2 separate regions of the Homo sapiens genome follow, and region 2 is linked to region 1. The links are contacts of gene promoters, found by promoter capture Hi-C in human tissues and cell types (Jung and others, 2019). All regions are on one chromosome and are shown on one strand. Each heading gives the region's core, a stretch centred on a gene start or on the middle of the fragment in contact. The rest is flanking DNA. Distances are from core to core; before and after follow the strand shown.

What was found. Contacts are between HindIII fragments. The study calls those that stand out against the background at their distance.
Region 2: the fragment with the promoter of SIRT2 here is called in contact with the fragment with the promoter of ECH1 in region 1 in 2 of the 25 tissues and cell types used here (dorsolateral prefrontal cortex and spleen).

What each region holds. Positions count from the first base shown.
Region 1 is chr19:38,827,817-38,833,970 of GRCh38, forward strand. ECH1 (enoyl-CoA hydratase 1) reads right to left here and starts at 3,978. Exons shown (of 10, transcript NM_001398.3): 1 at 3,905-3,978; 2 at 3,493-3,700; 3 at 3,262-3,350. The coding sequence starts at 3,956. The region is part of intron 1 of LOC124904712 (a long non-coding RNA gene); the gene reads left to right. RefSeq lists an enhancer at 3,877-4,026. The HindIII fragment of the contact is 9,746 bases long and covers 3,873-6,154 here.
Region 2 is chr19:38,896,432-38,902,585 of GRCh38, forward strand. It overlaps SIRT2 (sirtuin 2), which reads right to left and starts at 3,187. Exons shown (of 16, transcript NM_012237.4): 1 at 3,075-3,187; 2 at 1,948-1,994. The coding sequence starts at 3,090. NFKBIB (NFKB inhibitor beta) reads left to right here and starts at 3,538. Exons shown (of 6, transcript NM_002503.5): 1 at 3,538-3,780. The coding sequence starts at 3,602. The HindIII fragment of the contact is 18,718 bases long and covers 1-6,154 here.

The sequences.
Region 1 (6,154 bases), core at 2,728-5,227:
TCACACCCAGCTAATTTTTGTTAGAGACAAGGTCTCAGTGTGTTGCCCTGGCTGAAGATTAGTTTTTAAATCTTTTGCTGGGGGTGCATGTATGGTCTGTAAATCAGCAAGAAGCCAGGCACAGTGGTTCACGCTTGTAGTCCCAGCACATTGGGAGGCCGAGTCAGGAGGATCGCTTGAGTTCAAGAGTTGAAGACCAGACTGGGCAACATAGCAAGACCTCATCTCTACAAAAAAATAAAAATAAAAACAGAAAAACCAAAAAAACTAATTCCAACTAAGCTACCAAAACACGAAACTCAACACTCTTTGGAACTATATGATAGAATCCAGAGTATCCACATCTTATTCCTATATCCCAATATCCAAGAAACAATCCAAACTAACTCAAAATACAAAGAAACAGGAAAGTGAAGCCGTTTTCTTTTTTTTGAGACAGAGTCTCGCTCTTGTCACCAAGGCTGGAGTGCAATGGCGTGATGTAGGCTCACTGCAACCTCTGCCTCCTGGGTTCAAGCGATTCTCCTGCCTCAGGCTCTCCAGCAGCTGGGATTACAGGCATGCACCACCACGCCGGGAAAATTTTTGTATTTTTAGTACAGACGGGGTTTCACCATGTTGGCCAGGCTAGTCTTGAACTCCTGACCTCAAGTGATCCACCCACCTCAGCTTCCCAAAGTGCTGGGATTACAGGCATGAGCCACTGAGCCCAGCCTGCCATTTCCAAGCGAAAAGATGATAAGGAGACTGACCCCAAGATGACCCAGATGTTGAGATTAGAAGATAAGGAGTTTTTGTTTTGTTTTTATTTTGTTTTTAGAGGGAGTCTCGCTATGTCACCCAGGCTGGAGTGCAGTGGCGCCATCTCGGCTCACTGCAACCTCTGCCTCCCAGGTTCACGCCATTCTCCTGCCTCAGCCTCCCGAGTAGCTGGGACTAAAGGTGCCCGCCACCATGCCTGGCTAATATTCTTTTTTTTTATTTTTAGTAGAGATGGGGTTTCACCATGTTAGCCAGGATGGTCTCGATCTCCTGACCTCGTGATCCGCCTGCCTCGACCTCCCAAAGTGCTGGGATTACAGGCGTGAGCCACCACACCTGGCCAGAAGACAAGGATTTTAAATCAGTCATTATAACTATGCTCAATGGCAGGAAGAAAAACATGCATGACAAAAAATATACAACTGACCAGGCACAGTGGCTCACGCCTGTAATCCCAGCACTTTGGGAGGCCGAGGGGGGCCGATCACTGGAGGCCAGGAGTTCAAGACCCGCCTGGCCAAAATGGTGAGACCCCGTCTCTACTAAAAATATAAAAATTAGCCAGGCGTGGTGCCGGGTGCCTGTAATCACAAGTACTCAGGAGGCTCAGGCAGGAGAATGGCTTGAATCTGGGAGGTGGAGGTTGCAGTGAGCCCAGACTGCACCACTGTACTCCAGCCTGGTCAACAGAGTGAGACTCCTTCTCCAAAAAAAAAAAAAAAAAAAAAAAAAATTAGCTAGGCCTGGTGGCGGGCATCTGTAATCCCAGCTATGCAGGAGGCTGAGGCAGGAGAATTGCTTCAACCCAGGAGGCAGATGTTGCAATGAGCCAAAATTGCATCACTATACTCCAGCCTGGGTGACAAAGCGAGACTCTGTCTCAAAATAAATGAATAAATAAAATAAAATAAAATATGAACCAAATGGAAATTGGAGAATTGAAAACTACAATATCTGGGCTGGGCGTGGTAGCTCACGCCTGTAATCTCAGCACTTTTGGAGGCCGAGGCGGGCAGATCACGAGGTCAGGAGATCGAGACCATCCTGGCTAACACGGTGAAACCCCGTTTCTACTAAAAACACAAAAACTTAGCTGGGTGTGGTGGCAGGCACTGGTGGTCCCAGTACTCGGGAGGCTGAGGCAGAAGAATGGCCTGAACCCGGGAGGCAGAGCTTGCAGCGAGCCGAGATCGCACCACTGCACTCCAGCCTGGGTGACAGAGCGACTCTGTCTCAGAAAAAAAAAAAAAAGAAAGAAAACTACAATATCTGAAATTTAAAATCAGTGGGTAGTAGCTGGGCACGGTGGCTCACGCCTATCATCCTAGCACTTTGGGAGGCCCTAGGTGGGTGGATGACCTGAGGTCAGGAGTTTAAGACCAGCCTGGCCAACATGGTAAAACTCCGTCTCTACTAGAAACACAAAAAATTAGCCGGGCGTGGTGGCGGGCACTTGTAACCCCAGCTACTTGGGTGGCTGTGGCAGGAGAATCACTTGAACCCAGGAAGCAGAGGTTGCAGTGAGTTGAGATTGCACCATTGCAACAAAAGCAAAACTCCGTCTGAAACAAAATAAAACAAAATAAATCACTGGATGGGCTTTACAGAAGGATAGAGATGACTAAACAGTTAGTAACTGTGACCAGTGGAAATTCTCCAATCTGAAGAAAAGGTCAGTGGGTCAATCCAAAGATCCAACTGACCTGTAACTGGAAATCAATTAGTGAGTTGAATAGTTGCACGAAAGCATGTTATTATATTATATGCTGACACAGCTATAGGCTGAGAGGTTAAGCATGTTGTTCATGGCCACAGATCCAGGATGGAAACCTAGACTTCAGAGCCTATGATCCCATCGTGTTCTGTCAGACTAATACTTATATTTGAATGTTTTAAAGTAGGCCTTTTTTTAAAAAAATGATAGGGCTGGCCATGGTGGCACCTGCCTGTAATCCCAGCATTTTGGCAGGCTGAGGTGGGAGAATCGCTTGACCTCAGGTATTTGAGGTTACAGTGATTTATGATTAGGCAACTGTACTCCAGCCTGGGTGACAGAGAAAGATATTGTCTCCAAAAAAAAAAAAAAAAACACACAGATAAAAGTGTGAGTTAGGGGCCAGGAGCAATGGTTCAGGCCTATAATCCCAGCACTTTGGGAGGCTGAGGCAGGCAGATCATAACGTCAGGAGATGGAGACCATCCTGGCCAATATGGTGAAACCCCGTCTCTACTAAAAATACAAAAATTAGCTGGGTGTGGTGGCCCACGCCTGTAGTCCCAGACAGAAGAATTGCTTGAACCCGGGAGGTGGAGGTTGCAGTGAGCTGAGATTGCGCTACTGCACTCCAGCGTGGCAACAGAGCAAGACCCCGTCTCAAAAAAAAAAAAAAAAAGTGTGTAAGTCAGAAGCTGCTTAAAACCCTAATTCAGAAGCACTGCTCCACTGTCTATTGCCAGGAGCTAGGAAGGCTGGCAGGGTGTGTGAAGAGCGTCTGGTACCTGCAGTGAACATTTTTCCTGCACCAGAGATCACCACCGCCCGACAGTCAGCGTCTCTCGAAATCTTGTTGAAGCACTCTACCATCTCTCTGTGAAGCAACGAGTGAAGGGTTACAAATGGGGCGGGAATACCCTGCCCTCATGTCCATCTTCCCACAACGTTCCACTTTCACCCAGTCCCGCAGCCCCGCCTCCCCCCGCAGGCAGGCCTCCAGGATCTGCAGGTCAGACCTCCAGAAGACCTTGTTCATGGCATTCCTCTTGTTGGGCCGGTTGAGCTGGACATGCAGAACATGTTTCTGCGCAGACGTCACACGAAGGGACTCATAGCTGTGGTCTGGGGCTTCACCGAGGGCTACTCCGGAAGCCTCCTCTTGTGCAGAGGAGCCAGTGAGGCGAAGGCTAATACTGAGTCCCGGGTAGTTGGAGCCTGTCAGTCCTGGGGAGAAAGGAACAGCCTTTGATGACCCCAGACTGCAAGACACAGGCCTATCGAATTAGGGAGTCCTTCAAAAGGGAGCACACGCACCCCTGAATTTAGGGGACTCGGGCCCTTCGTGACCCCGGATAGCCCTCCCCGTCCTACATCTGCTATAACAGCACGACAGCGCGACGCACCCCCATAAGGCAAGAGGTGACTCACGCCGGGTCAGTAGGTCGCGGAGTCTGCGAGAAGCCACTATCCCCGCCGCCATCGCCGCCGCCTTCGTCTACTGCGTTCGGACGGAGTAACGTGCCCGTTAGCGGAGGGGGCGGGCACAGAAGGCCGCCATGTTGAGCGAGGGCACCGATGCCGCAACCTGACAGGCAATGACGCCGTTCTTTCCGCCATCTTTACTAAGGGCAGTCGATTTCCGGTTGCCTTACATAGAGCCAGGCTCAGAAATGGACCCTTTGCCCCAGTGGGAACCTGGCCAAAGAAAATAGCTCCTGCAATGGCGTGAACCTGGGAGGCGGAGTTTGCAGTGAGCCGAGATCGCGCCATTGCTCTCCAGCCTGGCGACCGAGCGACACTCCGTCTTAAAAAAAACAAAACAAACAAACAAAAAAAAAAACAGAAAAGCAAACAGCTCCCGCTAAAGTTCATCACACAGCTGTTTCATAATGGTGGAATAATAGGCGACAGCTGAAATGTCCAAGGACATAATTGCAGCAGAGCTTGTAATCATGCATGTATATATCATGTTAACTAAAAATAAAAGAAAACTTGCAGTACTGTGAGTTTACTCAGGTAAAGGAATGAGTACAGACGGGCCAACATTAAGCGCTGACTGTATAATATGAACTCCCACCAGGAGGTCGTACTATTTCCTACTATATGCAGAGGAAACTGGCCCAGGCACGGGAAGACACTAGGTTCAAGGTCGGTGGGCTTCAGAAGGGCTAAAGCAGGATTACCTGGCACCAGAGTTCATGTTCTTAGCCTGGCGCAGTGGCTCACGCCTGTAATACAAGCACTTTGGGAGGCCGAGGCAGGCGGATCACCTGAGGTCAGGAGTTCAACAGCAGCCTGGTCAACATGGCGAAACCCCGTCTCTACTAAAAATACAAAAATTAGCCGGGTGCGGTGTCCGGCACCTGTAATCCTAGCGGGAAGAGAATGGCTTGAGCCCAGGAGGCGGAGGTTGCAATGAGCAGAGATGGCACCACTGTACCCCAGCCTGGGCGACAGAGCAAGATCTCAAAAAAAAAAAAAAGAAGAAAAAAAAGTTCATGTTCTTAAAAAAAACAAACAAAACAAAAAAACCGAAATTCCCTTGGGAAAAGCCAGCTACCAAAAGGCATAAAAAGTACTGTAAAACTGCTGGCCGGGCGCGGTGGCTCACGCCTGTAATCCCAGCACTTTGGGAGGCCGTGGCGGGCAGATCACGAGGTCAGGAGATCGACCTCCTGACCTAGCTAACACAGTGAAACCCCGTCCCTACTAAAAAAATACAAAAACTTAGCGGGCATGGTGGCGGGCGTCTGTAGCCCCAGCTACTGGGGAGGCTGAGGCTGGAGAATGGCGTGAACCCCGGAGGCGGAGCTCGCAGGGAGCCGAGATGGCGCCACTGCACTCCAGCCTGGGGACAGAGCGAAACTCCATCTCAAAAAAATAAAAAAAAAAAGTACTGTAAAACTGCTTAAGTATGCTTTTTGGGGAGACATTGAGCAAGGCGGTGAACAGATGTCTCTGGGCCAGTGAGATTGAAGGAAGTATCTTTCCTTAATGAACCTGTCTCCTGTGTGTTTTCACAGACTAGAAAAGCAGGCTCTTTTGAAAGACAGAACCATTAACTACCCATCAACAGTAGACTGTTTATACCATAGAAAACTCTGAAACCTCTATGCAAAAATAAAAATGTGTGAGAAAAAAATGTGAAGATGTAATAGAACATTTAGTATGATCCTTTGTTCCTTTGGTGTAAGAAAGTATAGCTGGGCTGGGTGCGGTGGCTCAGGTCTGTAATCCCAGCACTTTAGGAGGCCCAGGCAGGCAGATCACCTCAGGTCAGGAGTTTGAGACCAGCATGGCCAACATGGTGAAACCCAATCTCTATTAAAAATATAAAAATTAGCCAGGCGTGTTGGCTCATGCCTCTAATCCCAGCACTTTGGGAGGCCAAGGCGGGTGGATCACAAGGTGAGAAGATCGAGACCATCCTGGCTAACACGGTGAAACCCCATCTCTACTAAAAATACCAAAAATTAGCCGGGCGTGGTGGCGGGCGCCTGTAGTCCCAGCTATTCGGGAGGCTGAGGCAGGAGAATGGCGTGAACCCAGGAGGCGGAGCTTGCACTGATGTGAGATCACGCCACTGCACTCCAGCCTGGGCCACAGAGCAAGACTCTGTCTAAAAAAAAAAAAAAATTAGCGGGGCGTGGTGGCAGGTGCCTGTAATCCCAGCTACTT
Region 2 (6,154 bases), core at 1,937-4,436, 68 kb after region 1:
GGTCTCAAAACTCCTGGGCTCAAGTGATCCCCCTGCCTCCCAAAGTGCTGGGATTACAGGTGTGAGCCACCGTGCCCGGCCTCACCTCGTTTTTCAGAGCAGCTACATAGTATTGGATTGTATGGATGAACCATAGTTCATTTAACCCATCCACTGACAGCCATTTGGACTGTTTCCAGTTTTGCCCTGTGACGGACAATGCTGCATTTTACATCCTCGCCTCTCTCTCTTTGGGACTGAGGATCCTTTTTAACATTCAACCTTTTTCTCTGACAGTGGTCGTGCTTTGGGAGCCAGGCGAGTGAGTTGCCACAGCCTAACAGGAGGCTCTTATATCCTTAGCAAAGCTCCACTGTGCATTTGTGAGGTATTCTGATGCCCGCTTCTGCACCACCCCACGTCTGAAAGGCAATCTCAGGGGTGTGGGTGGGCTGGCACTCTTTCAGGCTGTACACAGTGAGGCTGTGTGGAAGGCCTGTGCCCAGCATGTGTCTGCAGCTTGGCCTAAGGGAGAGCCGGAGGTGCTGACGGGGGCCTTCAAGCTCCTATGAGACTGCCTGTCCACCTCTCCTGGCAGCCTCTGACAGGTGGCGTGCCCAGTGCTGGGGGACTCAAACCCTTCCCTGCTCCTGTAGCCGAGGGACGGGGGATAAGTGACTTAACAACTCTGCCTCAGATTCTGCATCTGTAAAATGGCCGTGATAGGCGTTTCTCTTCACAGGGATGCCAGGAAGATGAAATTGAGATGAGGCACGTTTGGCACTAAACAGTGGGCCCAGCTTTAGTAAGCCGTCAGTAAATGCTAACCACGACTATAACAAGCTGACCACCACCAGCCACCCAATTATGGAACACATCACACCCCTTCATGCCCCCCAGGTCTTTGCACAAGCGATACCTGTTGTGTGGATCACCATTTCTCACCTTGTCTAAGAAAATTCTAAGTCACTCTTCACTTATGCTGTGTCTGTATCTTGGTCTGACAGCTAGACCAGCCTGTGGATTCCTCCAGGGAATGGCCTGGCTAGAATCTTCTTTGACCCAGAAAATTTTCTCTGTGCTCCCACAGTACCCTGAGTTTCTTTACTTTTCTTCCTTTTTTTTTTTTTGAGACCGTGTTTTGCTCTGTCGCCCCGGTTGGGGTGCAGTGGCACAGTCAAGGCACACTACGGCCTTAACCTCCTGGGCTTAAGCAATCCTCCCCCAACTCAGCCTCCTGAGTAGCTGGCAATGCAGGCATGCACCACTACACATGGCTAATTTTTAAATATTTTGTAGAGGTGGGGGCCTCCCTATGTTGCCAAGACTGGTCTGGAACTCCTGGGCTCAAGCGATCCTCCTACCTCAGCCTCCCAAAGTACTGGGATTACAAGCATGAGCCACTGTGTCTGGCCCTGAGTTACTTTCTTTCTTTTTTACTTTTTAGAGAAAGGGTCTTGCTCTTTCACCCCGGCTGGAGTGCAGTGATGCAATCATAGCTCACTGCAGCCTCAAACTCCTGGGCTCAAGCGATCCTCGCGCCTCAGTCTCCTGAGTTATTGGAATTACAGGCATAAGCCACTGCATCTGGCCCCCTGAGTTACTTTCGTCATCACGCTGTGAGATCATTTTTTCCCATCACTTGTCCACGAGATCTGTGCGTTCCAAGACCAAATGGGATACCTGTCTCTTCCAGTCCCAGGACAAATGTGGTTCAGAAGGGATGGCAGGCAGTGGCAAGGAAGAAGGAAAGTTTGGGAGGACAGGCCTGGACTTGAGGCTGGAAACTCTTCTCTGACAATCCCCAGAATCTGCCTTTCCCCAGAAAGCTGCACTGGGTGGTGTGAGGGATTGGGGCAATGAGCCGAGGGCCCTGGGGTGACTGTTTCCCCTTTGCCACCTCCCCCCAGTGTGGGATGTGGAACAAGTCCGTCTCTCTCCTCCCCTCCACCCTTTCCCCCATCTCACCTGAGCCTCCTGCACCTTCCCTGCCTGGGTCTCCAGAGGGTGAGAGGCTGGGGGAGGGGAGCAGAGGTGGTTACAGTGGGGAGAACGATTAAGGGGGGAATAAAGGGGTTCAAATGGTCAGTGAGGGGGCAAGAACACCCACCAACCTAGTTACACTGGGATGGGATGGTGGTAAAAATGGAGCAGAGGGAGGGAGGGGACGGAGAAAAGATCTTATCTACATGCAAAGTGATGCCGGGAGAGGTGATTAGTGAGGGGCAGAGAGGCTGGAGAGGAAGATTTAGGGGGACAGGGAGAAAGTAGGGGCTTTTGCCCAGGCTGGTCTTGAACTCCTGGGCTCAAGCGATCCAACCACCTTGGCCTCCCAAAGTACTGGGATTACAAGCATGAGCCATTGTTTCTGGCCCTGACTTACTTTCTTTCTTTTTTACTTTTTAGAGAAAGGGTCTCGCTCATGTCACCCAGGTTGGAGTGCAATAGTGCGATCATAGCTCACTGCAGCCTCAAATTCCTGGGCTCAAGCGATCCTCCTCCTCCTACCTAGGGGATTCAGGGCATGAAGGAACACTCAGGAGGAGTTAGGAAGGACACGACAGTGTGTGAGTGTGTGTGCGGGGAGGGTTAGATTTACAAGGCAGAGGGAAGTTTAGAAAGGAAAAGAGAAGGGAAGAGACGCTTTGGCTGGGAGGCAGGTTTAGGAGGGAGGTGCAGTGGTGCAGTGGAGGCGGTAGGTTTAGGAGAGGCGCGGAACAAGGGGAAGCCATAGGAGGGGTCAGCAGGGGTCCCTCAGCATCCTCTGGTTGCCTCTAACAATCAGGTACCCATAGCAAGCGGGACCGGGGCAACTTATGTTCTTTGCAGCGAGGGACCTTAGCAACCAAGGTGCGAGAAACACGCGATCATTGGCAACTTGGCAAGTGGATGTGGTAAACGAACCCTGAACACACTGCGACCCAGAAACCCACCAGCCTAGCGATACAGATCGCTAAGCAACAGCCCTCAGAATCCCACTCCCCGAAGCGCTCCCTACTTCCCGCCCCACCGCGGCCACCCTTGGGCCCCGGGGCCTGCAGCATTCAGCCAGGCCCCGGCGCGGCCCGACCCTCCTACCCGGATCCCCGACTCACGGTCTGGCTCTGCCATGGGCGCGGTGCTGAAGCCCTTGAGGCTGTCACCGACCGCTCTGTCCCGTCACCAACCACTGTGTCCCGTCACCGACTGCTCTGTCCTGTCACCGACTGCTCTGTCCCGTGACGGCACCAGAAATGGGAGTGGCCGTGATAGGGCACAGAACTACAACTCTCAGCAGACATTGCGGCCGCAGACGCGCTTTCGTACAACACCCAGAGCGCCCCAGTTAGGTAAGAAAGCGCGCGAGGACCGGACTACGAGTCCCAGAAGGCGTGGCGTCAGCAGCCATGTTGGTAAAGGGCGCCCGGAAAATGTGGGAACGGCTAGAGAGTTGTAGTCCTCCCGAATACTCTGATTGGTCAGGATGCAGTACGAGGGCGGGGTGTGAGCGATTCAGCATATTATCATTGGGTGAATCAGGGGGCGTGGTGGGGAATTTCCCGCAGGGCGGAAGCTCCAGAACTCCCGGCAAAGCCCAGCTACAGGCGGGCGACTGCGGGGGGCCCCTGAGGCGGCGGGGGCCATGGCTGGGGTCGCGTGCTTGGGAAAAGCTGCCGACGCAGATGAATGGTGCGACAGCGGCCTGGGCTCCCTGGGTCCGGACGCAGCGGCCCCCGGAGGACCTGGGTTGGGCGCGGAGTTGGGCCCGGGGCTGTCGTGGGCTCCCCTCGTCTTCGGCTACGTCACTGAGGATGGGGACACGTGAGTGAACCTTAGGCTGCCAAACGGAGCCCTAGGACCCGGCGTCACATTCCTCATTAATCTCTGATCCCTGAGGCTTCCTAACCTCATACTCCTAAATCTGACTTCCGATGCTGAACTTCCTGACCTCTAACCCCCGAGTCCTAACTTTTAACAAAACCAATCTTCTATCTAGCTATGATCCTAACCCAATCATTTCTTACCTTCTTTTCTTGAACTATGATTCTCAGCTCCTGGAATCCACATTGTATCCACTGATACCCAAACCTGACTCCAGTCCTGAGACTTCTGTTAGAACTGTGGCTTCTCCTGACTTCTAACCTCCAAATATGATCTTTGATTCTTAGTTCCCGATTTGAGCCCTAGAGTTTGATTTCCGAAATTAATACTTGGTCCCTGACTCTAAGATCCTGTCTTCTGAGCAGTGTTCTTCAAATCTTAAATTCAAAGAGAGAGAATGTAAGCTCTTCTATGTTGAATTCCTAATTAAAGTAAAAAAATAGGAAAATTAAAAAAAAGAATGTTAGCTCCATGAGACCAAGGATTCATCTGTTAAACAAATATTCTTTACACATTACCACGTTCCAGGCTCCGTTTAGGTGCTAGTGATAAAGGCAGTGAAGAAAACAAACAAAAACTTAAGCCCTTGTGGAGCATACATTTTAGTGGAGCTAAATAAACAGATTGATAAGACCACAAGGAAGGAAAGAAATGGAAAGACAGGAAGAAACAAAGAAAGACACGCAGAAAGAAAGAAACATAGAAAGTAAGAAAAGGAAATAAAGTCAGAGGTAGTTAAGTACTTTGGAGAAAAATAAAGCAGGAAAATGAGGCAATAGATAAACAAGATAAGAGCATTTCAAGGAGAAGGAACTGCAGTTGCAAAGGCCCAGATGAGGGATTGTACTGGGTTTTTTGTCTGTTGTGTTTACTGCTGTATGCCCAGTGATGCAAGCAGGGCCTGATCCAGGAGGCACTGAATATTGATCTCAACCAGCTTTATAGTCTCGTTAATTTTCATTAAATTTCATTAATTAATTTTGGTTTCATTAATTTTTTTTTACTTTCTATTCAATTGGTCTCTGTTCTGACTTTTTTTTTTGAAACGAAGTCTCACTCTGTCGCCCAGGCTGGAGTGCAGTGGCATGATCATGGCTTACTATAGCCACAACCTCCTGGCTCAAGTGATCCTTGCACCTCAGCCTCCTGAGTAGCTGGGACCACAGGCACATGCCACCATGCCTGGCAAATTTTTAAATTTTTTTGTCCCCCTATGTTCTCAAACTCTTTTTTTTTTTTTGAGACAGAGTCTTGTTCTGTCACCCAGGCTGGAGTATAGTGGCACTATCTCTGCTCGCTGAAACCTCTGACTCCTGGGTTTAAGCAGTTCTACTGCCTCAGCCTCCCAAATTTGGGATTACAGGCACGTGCCCCCACACCTGGCTAATTTTTGTATTTTTAGTAGCAACAGCAGTTTCACCATGTTGGCCAGGCTGGTCTCAAACTCCTGACCTCAGGTGATCCACCCGCTGTGGCCTCTCAGAGTGCTGGGATTACAGGTGTGAGCCACTGTGTGCAGCTGTGGTCTCAAACTCTTGAGCTCAAGCATTCTTCCCACCTTGGCCTCCCAAAGTGCTGGGTTACAGGGATGAACCACTGTGCCCAGACAGTCTCTGCCTTTTAATTAGTGTTTAGACCATTTACATTTAATTTGATATTGATATGATTGTGTAAATTTATCCCATGTCTATTATATATATTCTACTTACCTATGTTTTCTTTTTCCTCCCTCCTTTTTGCCTTTTATTGGGTATAGTTTTTGTTACTTTTTTTTCAATCCTGCTCCTTCTGTATAGTGTTTTTCATTTTATTTCTTTTTTTTTTTTTGAGATGGAGTCTCGCTCTGTCACCCAGGCTGGAGTGCAGTGGTGCAATCTCGGCTCACTGCAAGCTCCGCCTCCCAGGTTCATGCCATTCTCCTGCCTCAGCCTCCCGAGTAGCTGGGACTACAGGCACCTGCCACTTCGCCTGGCTAATTTTTTTTGTATTTTTAGTAGAGACGGGGTTTCACCGTGGTCTTGATCTCCTGACCTTGTGATCCGCCCGCCTCGGCTTCCCAAAGTGCTGGGATTACAGGCGTGAGCCACCGCGCCCGGCCTCATTTTATTTCTTTTGTTTGCTTATTAGATATTCCTCTTTTTGTTATGTTAGTGGTTGCTTTAAGGTGGGGGTTGGCAAACTATGGCCTCCAGGCAAAATCTAGCCAGCCATCTGCTTTTGTATGGTTGTGAGCTAAGAATGGTCTTTACATTTTTAAACAGTTTCTAAAAATCAAAAGAATAATAATATTATATGGCTTTTGTATGGTTGTGAG